4 separate regions of the Homo sapiens genome follow, and all the other regions are linked to region 3. Evidence: promoter capture Hi-C in 16 types of primary human blood cells and fetal thymus (Javierre and others, 2016). All regions are on one chromosome and are shown on one strand. Each heading gives the region's core, a stretch centred on a gene start or on the middle of the fragment in contact. The rest is flanking DNA. Distances are from core to core; before and after follow the strand shown.

Region 1 (2,895 bases), core at 337-2,836, 190 kb before region 3:
ATTTGTAATCCCCAATGTTGGAGATGGAGCCAGATGGGAGGTGACTGAATCATGGGGGTGGATTTCCCCTTAGTGCCATTCTTGCAATAGTGAGTTCTTGTGAAATCTGGTCATTTAAAAGTGTGTGGCACCTCTTCCCTTTTGCTCTTCCTCCTGCTCCAGCAATGTGAAGTGCTGGCTCCCCCTTGCCTTCTGCCATGATTATAAGTTTCCTGAGGCTTCCCTAGAATCTGAGCAGATGCCAGAATCATGCTTCCTCTACAGCCTACAGAACCATGAGCCAATTAAACCTCTTTTCTTTATAAATTACCCAGTCTCAGGTATTTCTTTATAGCAGTGCGAGAACGAACTAATACAGTATGTCATTCTTAAGACTTCACAGCATAGATATATAGCATGTTCCTAGTACTCTCTGACTACTCCTGCTTTCCTCCATGCACATGGAAATAGTTTAAAGCCACTGGCATTTAAAATTATAATTTACTCGTGAAAGACCAACAGATATTCAAGAACCATAAGCCACACCTATATTACACAAAACACAGCCTTGGACATAAAATTAATTATCCAAGAAATATTTTGATTATGATTAAAACAGTATAATAACCACAAGCCTCTACTTTTCCATTGAGCCATTCTTCCTTCAATTACAGATCAATGGTTTGGTATAAATGTTCAGTATATCATAAGGATAATGAATAAACTAACATGTCTAATAAAGAAAGATGTAGTGGGTACAATGCAGACAGCATAACTGTGTTTAACTTATGTACTGGTTTCACTACGGAAACACAGAGAGGGATGGAATTCTACTCCAAGTGTCGCTTATGCAACAATGGGCAGTTCAAACGTGTACTTTTAAATTCAAACACAAAACTGCATGAATGCTTTTTAATTTTTTTCTCACATATTTAAATAAGTTCATTTTTTGGAAAAATCACTAGAGTTTTAAAACATATAGTTAGAAGAGACACTACCATTATCTTATGGAAAATAGTTTAGGATTAATGATTTAGAAAAATTATCAAAAAAGGAGGCAAATATAACAAAATTCTCTAATATTTCTAGTCAGCAGGTTATAAAAAGGTCAGGTAAAGTGGGAAATCAAAAGTTCATATAACCTCAAACATTCTAACTTAAGATGCACAGATGTAAATTCATTCACTGCTCTTTGATGTAGAGTGAAAGCTTTATTTTTTAAATGTACCCACTGATGGGATTTTCATCCTGTCCTTCTTGCACACATAGCATACAAAGGCTTGCCTTTGATGTTCTCCTTTTCTACGTAGATCAAACATTTCAACACATCTGCAAAATAATTTACATGTAAATTCATTTATTTCATATTTTTATTTCATTATTTTAGTGTCCCATTCAATTATAATTTAATAGCATAATTTTTTGGTTAGGGTAGGTAGCTCACCAAAGATTATTTCTTAAGTACTTAATTTTGCTTTTATGAAAACAGCTCTTCCTGTTTTTACATTGTATGTATATAATATTTTTTAAATTACATTATTAAAATAAGCAATTGTAAAAACAGGCCTTAACAGGTTAAGTAATAGTAAAACAAAATTTTGAAGAAATATAACTGGCATGAGAAGGTGAACTAGAAATTACCCTACTGGTCCTAGCCCCAAACGGTGCAAAGAACAGACTTTCAGCATGTATTACTGAGGGACTGGAAATCTTATCTGAACAAGTCTGTTGACTGAAGTTTAAGAACTTCTACAGGTCACTAGATGCAGGATTGCTGGAGAACTGTGATCCATACACTGACAAACCTTTAAGAAATCATGACCTGAAACTTGATTTTTTTTTAGTTTGTCCAAACAAGTGCAGGCCAAGCAAAAGCAACCACCTGCTACTCCTTAATTTATTACACAATTTGTAAGAAAGGCAGTAGAAAATGAGAATACTGTGGATAGATCACATGCACCAGAAATAATACAAATGATTCTCTCAATAAAATAATAATCTAAGCCAAGCTTGTCCAACCTGTGGCCTGCAGGCCACATGCAGCCCAGGATGGTTTTGAATGTGGCCCAACACAAATTCGTAAACTTTCTTAAAACATTATGAGATTTTTTTTTTTTAGCATATCAGCTACTGTTAGTATATTTTATGTGTGGCCCAAGACAATTCTTTTTCTTCCAATGTGGCCCACGAAAGCCAAAAGATTGGACACCTTTGAATTAAGATATAAATACAGAAGCATAGCTTTCCAGAAACCATTTTTATTCATCTATAGAAATAATCCCTCTTATCTGGGGAAGAAATGATCCAGAACCATCTTATGTCTATTAGTTAAATGCCTCCTATCATATATCCCTTAGTAAATCACTTGATAAAAAGAAATTTTAAAAATCTACTGTAAATCTTATTAGTGTCATCAGAATTGAAAAATCACAATTAAATTTAAAGATAAGTAATATGTATTGACAAACGACATTTCTAAAAATCTCCGTGAAAGCACTGGCCTTCCTATTTCCTTAACTATTTTTAGGTATATTTGTATTGCAAGCACACGATGGCACACTAAGCAAAGAAATCTGTTTACACACTAAATGTTTCCATACAAGCAACAATATGCAAATGGCTTATTGTAAATGTTCACAATTCTTAGTGATTAATTCAGATTAGCAAGTTCATATTAGCGAATGGAAGCTGACTGAGTCCAGGCACCTTAACTCTCTGGTTTAATGCTGTGTCTTGAAGCATCTAGAATATTTATTGGAACAAAGAAGATGCTCAATAAAACATGGTTGAATGATTTCTCTTTCAGATACACACATACTCTACCATGTGTTCAAACATTTTCCTAATTTTGAAAAAAAAATCTCGTTTCTTAAAAGCATGCGGGGTTAGAATTTTTAATGTATTTAGTGTGAAATA
Region 2 (3,213 bases), core at 50-2,549, 210 kb before region 3:
GAACCATAAAAGAAAATGGTAATTTTTGGAATTAAATGGTTTGGTAAAATTGCACAGAGAAGTCAAAAGAGATGAGAAATCAGCGAATCGACTGAAACATTTTATAAGTAAGAGAACTCAGTAAGGTAGGTTGGCACAAAGTTCATATATGAAAGTGTCAATAGCCTACCTAAATATCAGCAAAAACTCATCAGAAAGTACAATGAAAGAAAAAGTAACTTTGGTAATAGCAACAAAAATGAATTTTAAAAAGACTCTCCAAGTATTCCCATCTCAGTCAATCACATTTCTTTCATTTGTCCAGACCAAAAATCCTTGTTCTCATAAACATACATCTAATCCATCTACAAATTCCGCCAGCTCTATATCATAAATAGACCCAGAATCCACCAACCACCTGGATCACCAAATACCTCTGCTCAAGCTGCCAACTGGTGTCCCTGCTCCCAACCTTGTCACTTCATAATCTAGTCTCAACGAAACAACCAGAGTGATCTTTTTAAAATACAAGTTAGAAGACTAAACTTTCAGGGGTCATTTCTATAGTTCATTACTAGAGAAGTTTCTCTGAATGTGTGGAAAAATAAGTCAATAAAATAATAAAATAAAATACAAGTCAGCTCACTGCCTCACTTCTCACATTCTCCAATGGTTTCTTGCCTCAACCAGAAAAGATCTGGAGTGCTATACAAATGTTCCTCTACTTACGATGGGATTACAACCTGATAAATCCACCCTAAATTGAAAATATCAGTCAAAATGTACCAAATACCCCCAATAAACCCATCACAGAATCAGAAAATCATAATTCAAACCATCATAAATCCAGATGTCCCTCAATTTATGACGAGGTTACATTCTGACAAACCCACAATAAAGTTGAAAAATCATACATCAAACCATCGCAAGCAGGAGACCATCTGTAATAGGTCCTTCCTTCCTCCCTTACCTCCGGCCTCTCCAGTCCCCTATCTAACACTTTCTCCCTAGGATCACTGCATTCCAATCTCAGGACTCTTGCCTTTTCCTTGAACACATCCAGAATACCAGGCCCTCTACAGAGTCTGCTCCTGACCTTAACACCCCCATCTCTCTGCTTTACTTTTGGCCACAGGGTTAATGAGCAACATACTTATGTCTCCTTCTGTTAAAGGGTAATTAATTCCATGAGAGTAGGGACTTGTCTCTACCACCTTGTCCACACATTTGCAAATACACAGAATCTCTGGGACCATGCCTGCCATGTAGTAGGCACTGATACTTGCTGAAAGAGTGAATTCAATGACTACTTTCCACAGAAGATGCACTACCTAAGCCTAAAACTGGGAAGGAAAAGAGTCCTTACCACCAAAAAATAAAATGAGCTTTCATTTCAGGATTACTTGTCTGGGATTTTTTTTTTAAAATTAACTGATTATGTTTTATTTTTTACAAGATGAATGAAAAATACACACTGGATTTATTAGCAAGGGATAACTGACAACTTTGTAATTCTGGGGAAGCATTCCCTGTCTACTGCACACTGCAGTGAACTCCTCTCACTCACAGTTTTGATGTCTGTGTGTGACAGTTTTACTTCCTCAGGTAGTTTGTATCTATGATGAAAATCCATCTCTAATCACTATACATAAGCCAATTTCTTTTAAGATGGGGAAAGTAGGACAAAGCGCTACTTGAAAAACCATTCACACAGAACTTTTTTTTTAAGACAGGGTCTGGCTCTGTCACCTAGGCTGGAGTGCAGTGGAACAATCTCAGCTCACTGCATCCTCTATCTCCCAGGTTCAAGCGATTCTTGTGCCTTAGCCTCCTGGGTAGCTGGGACTACAGGCACATGCCCAGCTCATTTTTGTATTTTTACTAGACACCAGGTTTTGCCATGTTGGCCAGGCTGGTCTTGAACTCCTGACTTAAGCAATCCTCCCACCTCAGCCTCCCAAAGTGCTGGGATCACAGGCATGAGCCACCACACTGGGGCATTTACATTAGACTTCTAGGAAAAACATCCTAATGTTCTCAGTTGTTATTTCAATTTAATAATGTATTTGTAACTTTTGTTCCTGAAAAATGGAAAGCAATGTGAATAAGACCAAGATCCTTCCACAGTGAATGTGCAATACAACCGAGAAGATGCAATGCATAATTACATAATACAAAACGAAAAAGAAGGGTCATCAAACAGATGGCAACTTTGAAAATTTAGGTCAGTGAAAGCCAGCTGAGACCAGCTGTGTGTGGTGGGGAGCAGGATCAAGGCATGCTTCAAAGAGAAAAGACAAGAGACTCAGGTCTTGAAAGAAAAGTAGAATTTTGATAAGCAGAGCCTGTAGGGTCAATTATATGTTAGTTCCCAATTGTGATCCATACACATTAAATTTAGGAATGTGTTTATCCAGTTTGCTTACTACATAGTCCAGTCTAGTGAAAAGAATACCAGATGGAAGCCTGGATTTGGCCTGAATCCTAAGTAGCTTTAAGACTTTAACTTATTTGACCTTTTAGTCACCAGCAAAATTTTGAAAATATCTTTTACCTACTCACATTCTCCTAACATTAATTTTTTGGTCAGAGGCTCCGAAGTAATAACAAAATTGTCACCCAAAGTTAAAAGTACAGTGAAAATAATCAAATGTGTGTTATCATCTAAATATAGGAAATTCTGATAATATAAACTAAAGAGAAAAATGTAACATTAACATTCAATAACAACTATACTTAAGAATACTAAGTTTTTAAAATATTTAAATATTTAAAAATCACAGTAACTGCCATTGAAGCCTCCTCACCCCTTTTAAACGGGAATGTTTCAACCAGTTTTCTTATCAAATAGATTTTCACATATGCTTTTCTTCACCGGTGGCCTTGTTTGACTATCAGTCTACTCTTTAGAGGCTTTTCCCCTTAACAGTAAACAACAGCAAATTTCACATAAGGGTAGGTGGAGAGGAGGTTATACTGGAAAGATATTTATAATAAGAAAACTCCCCCACATCAGGGCAAAAATTCATTATTCAAGCTTAAAAATAACAAGCTACAGTAAATTATTGCTTATGCAAATCATTGCTTTATTAAAATTATCTCAATATTATACTCAATTTTAATAATGAGAATTAAGGCAAAATTTGCATTATTCAATAATATATTTTGATAATATCATAATCTCATTTTAACACCGAATTCAATTAGTGTCCTACTATTACTGCTGATTGGTCT
Region 3 (2,907 bases), core at 140-2,639:
ACTGTATAGATAGGTAAAGAATGTATGAATTTAATTTTTCATAAGATTGGTATGTTTTCATATTAAACTTTTCACCTCCAACATTTACAAATATCTGGAAGTTTTATACTTCTAGAAAGTTAAAGAAAGATGATTCAAATAATGATGGACCCTTCAGTAAGTGGAAAAAGTACATTCGGTAACACTAGCAATCAACCACGCAGCCTACAGAAAAATGATTCACCACCACCCATATGCAGTTTCACCTTAATCTACCACATGTGGAAGATGCTCTCAACTGTGGAAACAGTGTGAATTACAGCCCCATCTTCAGCATAAAAGACATGCATACATACTGTTACACTAGAAAAAAAGGAAGCCTTTTATGGAAGAAAATTACCAATTTTCTTATTTAAGTCTTTTTTTCTTTAAAAATAATTAATGAACACTAGCAGCGTAGCGAGTCTTAAATTTTGCCCTTTCACTTAAAATTTAAACCAAAGCAAATACACTTACCTATTATACCAGATCCTATAATCGAGTTGACAACATTAAAAAGAGCAGCAGACTGACAGGTTTTCTCTTTATACTCATGTTCAGAAACAAGGGTTTCTCTGTCATCTAAATCTCTCTAATAGATAAAATAGCAATTATAAGCAAATACTAGTTCAGAAAATTAGAAAAGTAACAAATATGTAATGCAGGATACTAACACGATTTTCTAGTAATAATAAGTAATGTCACTAATGAAAATAAAATAAATGCCGGGATAACAGTAATAAAGAATAACAATAACAGCTAGTAATTCAACAGAGCTTGGTAAGCAAACTCCATCCTAAAATTTCCAGATTACAGCTGCCCCAGCTGCTAAGTACAGGATCTGTTAGGAATTCAGTGATGTGATTTTGTGAAATTAAAGTGCCTGCTAAGAAAAAAAAAAAAAAAAGTCAGATTAAGGCAAAACTTTTTGTCCCAGAGAACTTTTCGCGGTGCTAAACCAAGAGCCCAGGTGAAGGTAGGTGACCTGACCTGTTGCAAGGTGAATGAAATTTCCGGACAACTGGCTTCAGAACCTGCCTAGTCGCTAGTTTTACCTGCGGCGGGATGACAGGCTCCTGCCTCTGGTAGCCCATGGCTGAGCGGTGGTCCTCAGCAGGTGGAAGATGCTGGGGCTGGGTACGGATTCGCACCCGGCCAGCCTCCTCCGCCACCTCGCACACAGCCGAGGTCCGCGTGTAGCCGCAGAGCTGCAGGGAGCCAGTTCCACGGGCGCCCCCTGCTCCCTCGGCAGGCCGCGAGGGCTGCAGCCCCAAGATCTCTAGGCTGTGGCAGCCTGGGGCGCTTTTCCACCGGAGTTCGCCCAGACAAATGTATTTTTCCTCCGGAGACGGAGATGCTGCAGGATGTTTCTGATCCGGGCAGCCCTGTCTCCCCGCCTCCCCCCTTCACACCCCCGCCTCCCTGAGAGAACAGGGAGAGCTACTCTTCCCTGGAGCTGCAGAGGACAACTTGTTCCACCCACGCTGCCCTGCCCCGATCTCACAGAGTTATGACCGCCTCGTTGCAGTCCGTTCCTAAGTTAGCTTCTCCTTTGCTGGGGTCTGAAGCCCAGGTAAGAACGCAGAAGCACCCTTGGGCCCATGGGCCATCTTCCCTATTAGCACCTCCTCCTCGCTACCCCTCTTCAATGGCAGAGACGACGAGTGAAAATTTGGGACTTTTATTGTAAATGGAAATGGAAAGACTCATAAGAAAATGAATAGCAAAACAAAAAACTTTCCTAGGGTTTTAGCAAACTTGACTACTGAGCATGCTTTGGTCAAACGCTTCCTGGTAACTTTTAGAAAAAGGAGCGATAGAGAAAATGAAGGTGGATTGTTACTGCATTCAGGTAATGAACCTTGAAAAGGGAAAGAGGAGTACAAGGGTTTGGGAAAGGGGTGGCACCTACAGTGCCTGAGCTAGAAAGAATCTTCAATGACCACCTATTCAGTCCTCTTACATTACAGATGAAGCAACAAGCCCAGAGAGTATTCAATATCAGAGACAGAATGCATGAGACAACAGTTTCAGGGGCAATAAGAGCGGTGATATGCCATCATACTTAACAAATTCTGCCTTCCCTTGATATCCATAGGGGATTGGTTCTGGAACCCCTGCAGATACTGAAATCCAGGAATGCTCAGGTCCTTGATAGTAAACAGCATGGTATTTACATGTAACCTAGGCACATCCTCCAGCATACTTTAAATCATCTCTAGATTATTTATAATACCTAATACAATGTAAATGCTATTTACTTGTTGTTATACTGTATTGTTTAGGAAATAAGAAAAAAGTCCATATGTGTTCAGTATAGACACATCCATCCTAGCCCTAACTACATTTTTGATCTGGGATTGGTTTAATGCATGGATGCAGAAGTGGGGATATAGAGGCCAACTGTACCTAATTAAAGAGGTTCTGTTTCATACATGTTTACTTATAATTAAGAAAAAAAATTAAAAACCGTGGGAAAACAAAAGACTTATAAACTTTATATACACTCTGCCATCAAATGTTAACATGCTGTCATATTTTCTTCAAATTGTAAAAGTAAACACAATGTCACAATAGGAACCCCCTTGACCTTCTCCATTCCTTTCCCCAGGCCTTCAGCCCTGGAGTCATCGGTTCATCAAGTTAGTGTTATCTTTGCTATTCATACTTTGTATTTTAATCCGTTCATTTATAGCCATAAACAATATATAACATTGGCTTTTGTATTTTCAACATTTACAAAGATGGTGCCATATTGTACATGTTATTTTTCCACTGGCATTTTTGTTTTCAGCATGTATGATGTAGATATATGCAGATTTTTTTTTCATTTTATCTAACAGTTAAGTCAGCCTTCCCCTACTGAAAGATATTAAGGTTGTTTCTCGT
Region 4 (2,917 bases), core at 84-2,583, 230 kb before region 3:
AGGAACCAACTTGAGACAGTTTCTACTGGTAAAAATAAGGATAATTTGGACATCATAAAAGTAACTCAATAAACTGAAACATGTCACATGTGTTTAATTTCATATGTTCATAATGATACTAAAAAAAAAAAACTCTTTTTTCACCTTTGTGTTATGCTAGAGAACCAGTCCATTATTTTAAAAACTGATGAAAGGAAATCATCCAACTTTTATTATACCTTTTTCTTTTCTTATTTATTTATTTATTTATTGAGACAGTCTTTTTTTGAATCTCACTCTGTCGCCCAGGCTGGAGTGCAGTGGCGTGATCTTGGCTCACTGCAACCTCTGAGTCCTCGGTTCAAGCGATTCTCCTGCCTCAGCCTCCCAAGTAGCTGGGACTACAGGCATGCATCCCCATGCCTGGCTAATGTTTGTATTTTTAGTAGAGACAGGGTTTCGCCATATTGGCCAGGCTGGTCTCGAACTCCTGGCCTCAGGTGATCCACCCGCCTCGGCCTCCCAAAGTGCTAGGATTACAGGCATGAGCCACCTCATCCAGCCTATTCTACCTTTTTCTGATTGAATTCGACTTATGTAGCAGTCATATAGCTGACACGGAGAACCTTACTTTTTCAGTAATATTGACTGCAATAGACTTTCACCATTTTTCAAATCTTAATTAACTAAGATGTAGACAAAGATCATTGATGGCTAACATCAGAAAAAAATAACTCGTTGTTACATGTTTGCTGATGGAAGTACACAGCAACACTTGTGAAGTATTCTTGCCAAAAAATCTCTCGCCAAAATCTGATCAAGCCTCTAGATTTAACCATCAATTTACAGGAAAGAGAGGGGAAATTTACATTGAAATAAAATTTCAATGACATTGGCAATAAGTTAAACATTAAGTGACACCACAGGAGGCAAACAGTAAAAATCTGAACACGGGAAGCTATAAAACAAATGACCTAGTTTCTTCAATAAATGAGTAGCAAATTTTTCTAAAAGGTTGGAAAAACAATGAGTGGTGATCTGTAAAACTAAAAAAATATTTCTTCTACTAAGCAACATATGGATTTTATGGTAAATCACAATATAATTTCAATAACATTTGACATAAAATATTGTGTATTAAAATTTGTGAGACATAACTAAAGCTAAACTAATAGATAAATATATAGTCTTAAATGCTTTTATTTAAAATACCTGTCTAAGAAAACCAAAATAAATTATGGCAAAATAGGGACTACTTCAGGAAAGGAAAGCTAGTTAACACCAAATAAATACAATAATACAATATGCCTCAATAACATATGAAAGGAAAACTATTTTACAAAGTAAAACTTTTAAATCTGATGATTCAAATATTAAATAAGCAGCATACATTCTGCACAATGAGTTTGACAATGCTAGCAACTAATAATAACGAACACGTAGATAGCACTTTATGGTTAAAGTTTTTTTGCATGCCTAAATGTTTCTTAGAATGACCTTGTGAGGGAAGTATCAAAAGTTATCACTCTGAGCCCTTTTTCTCATTGGAAGATGCTAGCATTTACCCTGCAGGATATATATATATATATATATATATATATATATAAAATGAAAGCAGTGGTATTACTCCATTACGCTCTCAGGAACTATAAGTGAACAGAGAGTTTTCGTAACTTGCACAAAGACAAACAGGCATTAAACAGTAGAACTAAAACTGGTATCCATTTAAAGATTATTTATATTTGTATTATTTTTACATTTGCCACTATTTCAATTTAAGATGGAATACACCGCTTATCGCATATGGATACACAATTAAATTTACTCAGAACAGTAGATGAAAAATTCATATGGTTGTGCAATACAATAAATATAACCAGAATATTTTTTATTTTTTATTTATTTTTTTGAAACGGTCTCACTCTGTCACCCAGTCTGGAGTGCACTGGCAGGGTCATGGCTCACCACAGCCCTGACCTCCCTGGGCTTAGGTGATCCTCCCACCTCAGCCTTCTGAGTAGCTGGGACTACAGGCATGTGCCACCACACCCGGCTAATTTTTGTATTTTTTGTGGAGATGGGATTTTGCCATGTTTCCCAGGCTGGTCGCAAATTCCTAGGCTCAAGCAATCTTCCCACCTTGACCTCCCAAAGTGTTGGAATGATAGGTGTGAGCCACCGTGCCTGGCCCATATGGTTATTTTTGGTGAAGAAATTTTCAGGTACATGGTCATCCTCCACACTAGTTAGCCATTAAGTTTTCACTTAAAGCTCTACATCAGGGATCATAGCAAGTCAGGTTAAACAGTAAGACAAGCAAAGGCTTTAGCTTACTTAGAAAAGCAACTCAAATACTGTAGTTTCCTGTTTCTAGAAGGCAGGCTAAATATAATTGCATGGTAAGTTCTAAGTTTTCAAAATAGTATCAGAAAAAATAAGGAGGCAAGGGTAGTGACAGCATTTGGATTGACCTTGTAGATTCTGATACTGTAAACTTTCTTAATTTTAATATTTCACTCTCTTAAGATTTGTCCACAACATTTCATATTCTAAATAAACCACATCCTTCCATTACTGGAAGGGATATTAGAAATCAGTGCATTCGACAACCTCAAAATGAGGCCAGAAAGTTTATGGAATTTGCTTAGGATTATGCAGATAGAGAGTGGCAAAATTAGGAGTAAAAGTCAAGTACAAGTAATAAAATGTTGTTGCTAGAAAGAACCACAGAGACCACTATTTCTAATCTCCTATTATTATAGAAGTAGAAGGTGAGATTTCACTAACACATAATATATGCAGTTTGTTAAGGCTTGTTTTTTTAGTAGGCTGGTAATTATTAGGGTAATCAATTATTTGAGACTTTTTCTTAATGGGTGAAAAAAGACTTCCACAATTTATTATTGGGCAATTTTTAATACAGTTTTTCTCTATGAAA

Evidence for each region. Contacts are between HindIII fragments. The CHiCAGO score rates a contact against its expected background, and 5 or more counts as called.
Region 1: a fragment that was not itself captured here is called in contact with the fragment with the promoter of SLC38A11 in region 3 in 1 of 17 cell types (total B cells); the score reaches 5.0 in total B cells.
Region 2: a contact is called between a fragment that was not itself captured here and the fragment with the promoter of SLC38A11 in region 3, in 3 of 17 cell types (total B cells, naive B cells and M1 macrophages). The highest score is 7.9, in total B cells.
Region 4: a fragment that was not itself captured here is called in contact with the fragment with the promoter of SLC38A11 in region 3 in 2 of 17 cell types (naive B cells and M0 macrophages); the score reaches 5.5 in naive B cells.

The regions. Positions count from the first base shown.
Region 1 is chr2:164,766,333-164,769,227 of GRCh38, forward strand. All of the region lies in intron 2 of COBLL1 (cordon-bleu WH2 repeat protein like 1), which reads right to left. Among named protein-coding and RNA genes, the nearest start is that of COBLL1, 74 kb to the right of the region's middle. The HindIII fragment of the contact is 800 bases long and covers 1,187-1,986 here.
Region 2 is chr2:164,745,797-164,749,009 of GRCh38, forward strand. The region is part of intron 2 of COBLL1 (cordon-bleu WH2 repeat protein like 1); the gene reads right to left. It also overlaps the pseudogene LOC124906197. Among named protein-coding and RNA genes, the nearest start is that of SNORA70F, 60 kb to the left of the region's middle. The HindIII fragment of the contact is 3,429 bases long and covers 1-3,014 here.
Region 3 is chr2:164,954,136-164,957,042 of GRCh38, forward strand. It overlaps SLC38A11 (solute carrier family 38 member 11), which reads right to left and starts at 1,390. Exons shown (of 12, transcript NM_001351537.2): 1 at 1,074-1,390; 2 at 496-610. The coding sequence starts at 1,112. The HindIII fragment of the contact is 8,780 bases long and covers 1-2,907 here.
Region 4 is chr2:164,723,550-164,726,466 of GRCh38, forward strand. The region is part of intron 5 of COBLL1 (cordon-bleu WH2 repeat protein like 1); the gene reads right to left. Among named protein-coding and RNA genes, the nearest start is that of SNORA70F, 37 kb to the left of the region's middle. The HindIII fragment of the contact is 4,319 bases long and covers 1-2,917 here.